Regions from separate parts of the Homo sapiens genome. Here region 1 is linked to region 2. The links are contacts of gene promoters, found by promoter capture Hi-C in blood cells and fetal thymus (Javierre and others, 2016). All regions are on one chromosome and are shown on one strand. The core of a region is centred on a gene start or on the middle of the fragment in contact, and the rest is flanking DNA. Distances in the headings are between cores, read along the strand shown. Region 1 overlaps FRYL (FRY like transcription coactivator). Region 2 holds the start of OCIAD2 (OCIA domain containing 2).

Region 1 (3,672 bases), core at 456-2,955, 210 kb after region 2:
GCTTTACTCTAATAAATATTCTAGTTAACATTAATATCTAGCTTAATATGATTTAAATGTATGTTAAAATTCTTAAGAGTAGTAGCAAATCTAGATTGGGAACTGGATCTGTAGACAATATTCAAAAGATACAATTCAGATGACCCTGAACACCAGTAAACTGATCCAGGGGCCAAATATTCTCTCAAAATAGAGGAGGAAAAAGGAAAAGAGGCATGTAGGGACCCAGAAGAAGAAGGGCGATTTATGTGGAGTGGAGGGAATTTTCATGTTAAACCACAGGTAGGGCTTGTTTACTTTGTCACATTTTCCCTGTAATAGAGAAACTGCTGAGCCAGAATTGTGCAACTGATTGAATTAGCACCTTGTTTAAATTGTTAGCATCCATCTTTGAGAAGCATGTATTTTAGATTAAAGATTTAAAAATCTTGGCTGAAACAAAGGACAATCTCTTTCCTTTATGAAGTTGTTCATTGAACTTTAAATAGTAAGATATTAACAGATGAGGATTGAATTTAGTCTTCAAATAAGCATCTCTGTGATTTGTTGGTCACAGTATGATCTCTTTCCCATCCCCCACTATTTTTTACTTTTGATAGGGCAAACTCTTATGTTTTCATGAAATATTTAAAGCAAATGATGTGTTAATTATGTTTAGTTATCCTTTTTGAGAGTTCTCTAGCTTTTTCTGTTCTGAGGTTCAGAATCAATATAAGGACATATTGAAATCATAATTGCATTTTATCTTCCAAACAGCCATTGAAAATAATTGCATTTTAATTTGAGAATTTTATCTCAACTCCATATAACAGCTTATACTTTAAAATATAATCCAGAGGTACAGTACTTTTCAGTTCATTTATTAGCTTTGTCAGTTTCCACATTTGTAAAGTTGAACATTTACTGAAATTATGGGCTGGTTTGGGTTAAAATGAAGTAACATATGTGAAGCATCTTAGATGGTCACACATAGTAGGCTCTCGGTAATTAGTCGTTGCTGCTGTTGTTATGGGTATTTAATTAACTTGGATTTCTAGGGCACCATTTGTTAGAGTGCAGTGAACCAATTCTGAATTCTACCCTCCTATATTTGTTACTTGTTTAGACTGACTTAACCACTGTGGAGAATAAAGCCTATTTGTGGGGGTTGGGGTGGGGGTGGTGCCTACTGACTCTTATATGCATGTTTTTTCAGAGTTACAGGATGTGTACTGGAATGTGAAGGATTAAGCTTTGTGGTGGCATGTTCTATATGGTCATCCATAGTGACCAAACTAATTTGGAATGTTGTTTTGTTACTAACTTGGAAATGTGTTATTTTCTCTACAGAGGATGTTGATCTGAATAAACTGCTTATTATGCTTTATACATTTCTAGAGCGAGAGGAACTGTCAATCAGTGTAAATCTCACCCAGCACAGTATTTTCTTTCACAAACATGGGGAGGAGGCAATACCAAGATAACCACTTTTGGGACAGAGCCAGGAGCTGTTGTGTAACTCAGAGGGTGTGTGATAGCATCCAGCTTTGGAGCCCATCACGTCACATTGAGAAATTGTGGCAGGGAGGCTTACAGGAAAAACATCTTGTTTATTAACACCTGAATATGTTACTTATGTAGCTTTTTAAAAGTCATCAGTTAGCTAGCTTCTCAAAGAGAGGCAAGAACCCATTCGCGTAGTTACAGATTGTGGCTATAGTAAGTCTTCTGGTAACAGGAGCTGTGAGCACCACTTCTTCAGTGAAGTCTTTCCTGTTCCCTTCTCCACTCAGGTTGATGACTGTCTCCTTTGTACCTGGTTGCAGCTTGAACATATTTAGGTAACTTCTCTCAAAGCACTTGAAACATGCTACTGCCCATGTCTCCTTTCCAGCTTGTCTGTAAACTCCTTGATGGTAGCAGCTGTGTGTGTAAGTGCCACTGAGTATAGATTCCTGGAGCTTAGGTTGATCCCCAGTAAATGTTAAATGCAGGTCTCCCTGTGCCTGTGGAAATGCCTCAACATCAATTGGTTCAATTGTATCCTTCAACTTGATCACTAACAGGTCTTTAATGAAAAGTCTCCAGAGATGCTATTCCCATTCTGTACTATCCTCATCATTACCATTCTTATTTCTTCTTTGCCAATGCAAATTCTCTATTTCATTTTTTTCTTTAAGTACTTCTCTATGAAGCTTTTTAAAAGTATGCTTCATTTTAGGGCCAGACATGGTGGCTCATGCGAGGCCCATGCGGGTGGATCACCTGAGGTCAGGAGTTTAAGACCAGCGTGACCAGCATAGTGAAACCCCATCTCTACTAAAAATACAAAATTAGTCGGGTGTGGTGGCGTGCACCTGTAATCCCAGCTACTCAGGAGACTGAGGCAGGAGAATTGCTTGAACCCAGGAGGCAGAGGTTGCAGTAAGCTGAGACACCGCAGCCTGGGGGACAGAGTGAGACTCCATCCCAAAAAATAAAAATAGAAGTATGCTTCATTTTAGTTAGTTTATAATCAACATTGAGAAATCCAAGAAAGGTGAGAAATGTAAACTAGAGCTGGAGATTTAAAATTGGCACCTGTAAAAATACATTATTTTTTGAAGTAAAAAAAGTTTGTAAACATTTCCCTTGTTTACAAATCTGAAATTATATTAATTTTGGTAAAATTCTAGATTTTTTCCAAATAAGTCAAAACCTCAAAAGAATGGAAATTTTAGGTAAAATTTAGGTAAAAATGGAAAGAAAGTAAGAGTCATAATTTTCAGGCTGTTATAAGAAATGTCTTTTACTGTATCATATGGTATTTTATAGTATATAAAAATATAGGAATTGACCTTATTATCCTTAGTGTACAAGGTTTTATTGTGGTTTAAAATTCCAAGTCTTCGATGTAGCTTCCTTTATTCTTCTTCTTCAGTTACACCATAATAGTTTATTGAAATTTGATGCATATAGGAAAAAACCTTGTAATTGACTTTTTTTGGAGAAAAATTATTCATTTTAAGACAAAAGCAGAGATTGTTTGAGCCAAAACCTGATGGATTTAAGAGTGCTGTTGATCATGGTTGACTTGTGAAAGTGATAGATAGATAGATAGATAGATAGATAGATAGATAGATAGATAGATAGATCTCTTATCGTTATTTTTCTTTTATACTGGGCTTATGTTTTTTTTTTCTTATTTTCTTGCTTAATAATAGTATCATTAAGCAGGCAGGAGAAAAATAATACCATTGAAACTAAAAGTTAGTAATTTAATTTGATTATGTATATATATATTTTATTATACTTTAAGTTCCGGGATACAAGTGCAGAACGTGTAGGTTTGTTGTATAGGTATACGTGTGCCATAATGGTGTCCTGCACCTATCCCCCCATCATTTAGGTTTTAAGCCCCACATGCATTAGCTATTTGTCCTAGTGTTCTCCCTCTCCTTGCCCCCCACCTGCTGACTGGCCCCAGTGTGTGATGTTCCCCTTCCAGTGTCCACGTGTTCTCGTTGTTTAACTCCCACTTATGAGTGAGAACATGCGGTATTTGGTTTTCTGTTCTTGTGTTAGTTTGTTGAGGATGATGGCTTCTAGCTTCATCCATGTCCCCACAAAAGACGTGAACTCATTCTTTTTTATGGCTGCACGGTATTCCATGGTGTATATGTACTACATTTTCTTTATCCAGTCTATCATTGA
Region 2 (3,358 bases), core at 268-2,767:
GGCTGGGGTAACTGTGTCCAGAGGTGTTTGAACAAGAGCCACTCCATCTTGAATAGGGACTGAGTAAAATAAGGCTGAAACCTACTGGGCTGCCTTCCCAGGTGGTTCAGCATTCTTAGTCACAGGATGAGATAGAAGGTTGGCACAAGGTACAGGTCACAAAGACTTTGCTGATGAAACAGGACTCAGTAAAGAAGCCAGCCAAGACCCACCAAAATCAAGATGGTCATGAAAGTGACCTCTGGTCGTCCTCATTACTCATTAAATGCTAATTTTAATGCATTAGCCTGATAAAAGACCCTCCCACCAGGGCCATGACAGTTTACAAGTGCCATGGCAACGTCAGAAAGTTACCCTATATGGTCTAAAAAGTGAAGGAACCCTCAGTTCCGGGAATTGCCCACCCTTTTCCTGGAAAATTCATGAATAATCCACCCCTTGTTTAGCATAGAATCAAGAAATAACTACCAGTATAATTAGCTAAGCAGCCCACACAGCTGCTCTGCCAGTGGAGTAGCCATTCTTTTTTGTTGTTGTTCTTCTTGTTTTTTGTTTTTTTTTTGTTTTTTTTTTTTTTGAGACAGAGTCTGGCTCTGTCGCCCAAGCTGGAGTGCAGTGGCGCAATCTCGGCTCACTGCAACCTCTGCCTCCGGAGTTCAAGCGATTCTCCTGCCTCAGCCTCCCGAGTAGCTGGGATTACAGGCATAGAGCACCATGCCTGGCTAACTTTTCGTATTTTTAGTAGAGAGAGTGTTTCACCATGTTGGCCAGGCTGGTCTGAACTCCTGAGCTCAAGTGATCTGCCTGCCTTTGCCTCCCAAAGTGTTGGGATTATGGGCGTGAGCCACCGCACCCGGCCTGTTTTCTATACTTCCTTAATAAACTTGCTCTCACTCTACGGACTCACCCCGAATTCTTTCTTGCGAGAAGTCCAAGAACCCTCGCTTGGGGTCTGGATCGGGACCCCTCTCCGGTAACAAGTGATATCGGTATTAAAGGTACCCCCACATGTCAAAGGCTTCCCTCCACAAGTCAGAGTTGGGGAGGGACAGGAGGCAGCAGGGGACCGACAAAGAGCAATGGAAAGAGAAGGCCTGGGAGCCAAGCAGGCCTGGGGTTGACTCCAGGCTCCCTTAGTGGCCTGCACAACTCAGATGACCCGTCTGTGAAGTGCAGGTCACAGTGGGCACCACACACGGCTGCAGAAAGGAGTGCAAAGGTGATGCCCACGCCTGGCCTAGGGCGGGGGCGCAATACATGGCTGTTGCGGCTGTGATTGCTGGAGGAAGGGAGTCATTTGGAAGGCACAAAGGAACTAGAACCTACTCGGTGTCGGGACAAGCCTCAAGGATGGGGCAGGGGTTCCGGCAAGAGCTGGGTTCCAGCCTGGGTTGCCACCAACAGCGAAAGTGACTGCCAGGTGGCAGTAGGGTGACTTCACCAGCTTAAGTGCTTAGCGGGCAGGCGAGGGGGCGGAGCAAGAGAAGAAAACACAAAGGGCCGGAAGGAAGCCGGGGAGACAGGTGGGGTACTCGGGAAGCTGGAGCGGGCCGGCGGTGCAGTCACGGGGGAGCGAGGCCTGCTGGGCTTGGCAACGAGGGACTCGGCCTCGGAGGCGACCCAGACCACACAGGTGAGCCCCCGCCCCGGGGAGTGTTGACGGCGGGAGGGGGTGGCCTCGGGGGAACGCGGCGCCGCAGGGCAGTCCTTCGAAGGCCGCGCGGTGCAGCGGTGGCCGCCCCCCACTCTCCCCTAACTCGGACCCCGGCGGCCCCGGCACGGGCGAGGGGCTGGGGAGCTTGGGGTGGCGCTGGCTGCTTCTGGCCAGGGATGGCAGCGGACTCCAGTAGGCTGACTCCCGGCTTCCCCGACCGCATCAGAAAGTGCAGTGTCCCCCGTCCGCCGTCCAGCCCTGCAGGCGCCCCCCTCCAAGCCATCCTAAGAAGCACCCCCGCCCCCCATGCTGGGGCGCGCCCTCCTCCGCACATTCGTCGGTCAGCACCCACGAACCCACGGGTCCCTTCCCCACCACTGAGGAAACAGAGGGTCCCCGGACCACCCCAGCGTGGGGGGTGGGAGCTACACCTGCAAGGCAAGACCCTCGGAAGGCTTGCTTTTAGGTGCAGACTGAGGACTAAGTGGGTGCCAGGGGACCTGGCCACCGAAGCTGAGAGGTATATTTGCCTCCCAATATAGGGCAGCGGCCTAATGGCTAAGCAAAGATAATCTAATTTGGCGTGGTCAGCAAAGACTTCCTGGGAGTGCTCAGGAAATGGAAGGTGTGCAGGGGCTTTATGGACGTATCCCTCATCCTCATCCTCATCCTAGTCTTCATTCCTGCAAGAGCCCCTCACCATTGTTGTGTCCATTATGCCCAATTAACAGTGGAGAAAGCTGAGGCAGAGACGGATTAAGTCATTTGCACCAAAGGGATCGCAGGGGTAAAGAGTCACGATTTGAACTCTGGTCTCTCTGACCCCAGTACTTTCCCGTGCAGGGCACCGTGCTGCCCCTGTAATCACATTAGACACCTGTGATGAAACTTGGTGCGAGTACGGGTCCCCTTGGCTCAAATGCCTCAAAGTTTAGTAACTGATGTAGGAAACAGAATTGTATATAAGAGGTTCATTTTGCAGAAGAAAAGCAGAGGTAGAGGTAGAGTTCAGGGCTGCAGAATGCAGTGGCCACTGGGGGCAGGAGGAGGCTCAAAGTCCACCTGGATTATGTCCATCATTGCCAAATCCAGGGTCCACTTTTCTAAGCCATGTGATGGTGTTGATGATTCACTCCCTCCTTCAGAAATTCCCTCCCCTCTGTATCAGCTATTCCTTCTCAGTCATTTCCTTGGCCTGCTTTTTTTTTTTTAATCTTTCTTCTCTTTTCGATATTCCCTTGGGCTCAGTGTTCATATTCTCCAGTACTGTTTTTAGACACATTTATTAAAGTTCCCTGCTTTAACTCTCATCTCTATGATGGCAGCTCCCAACTTCATCTCTCTAGCCTACCCCTGTTCTGGAACTCTAGACCCAAATCGTCAAATATTAACAGTGGCTAATTCCACTGTTTGCCCCCACAGGCACCCAAATCCAACATTTCCAAACCCAAATTTAGCATCTCTATCAAAGATGCTAAATTCCCACCAGGGTCTTTGTTCACGTCCCTGTAACTCCTTGTCTGGACTAGTGTACCACCTTCCAACCTGGTCCTCCTGCCCCAGAGTCCATCTACCCTCCACAGATCCTCCTGAAAGCTTAGGAGTCCTAGTTCCTTTGTGACATGACTAGATGGAATGGACCCTGCTTTCTTTTCTTCCTTAGCATCCCATGCATACTTTTCATGTTGTGTAACTGTTGACTTG

The links. Contacts are between HindIII fragments. The CHiCAGO score rates a contact against its expected background, and 5 or more counts as called.
Region 1: a contact is called between a fragment that was not itself captured here and the fragment with the promoter of OCIAD2 in region 2, in 1 of 17 cell types (endothelial precursors). The highest score is 6.2, in endothelial precursors.

The regions. Positions count from the first base shown.
Region 1 is chr4:48,696,287-48,699,958 of GRCh38, reverse strand. The region is part of intron 2 of FRYL (FRY like transcription coactivator); the gene reads left to right. Among named protein-coding and RNA genes, the nearest start is that of FRYL, 82 kb to the left of the region's middle. The HindIII fragment of the contact is 943 bases long and covers 1,234-2,176 here.
Region 2 is chr4:48,904,933-48,908,290 of GRCh38, reverse strand. It overlaps OCIAD2 (OCIA domain containing 2), which reads left to right and starts at 1,517. Exons shown (of 7, transcript NM_001014446.3): 1 at 1,517-1,633. RefSeq lists an enhancer at 1,210-1,289 and a silencer at 1,580-1,839. The HindIII fragment of the contact is 6,070 bases long and covers 1-3,252 here.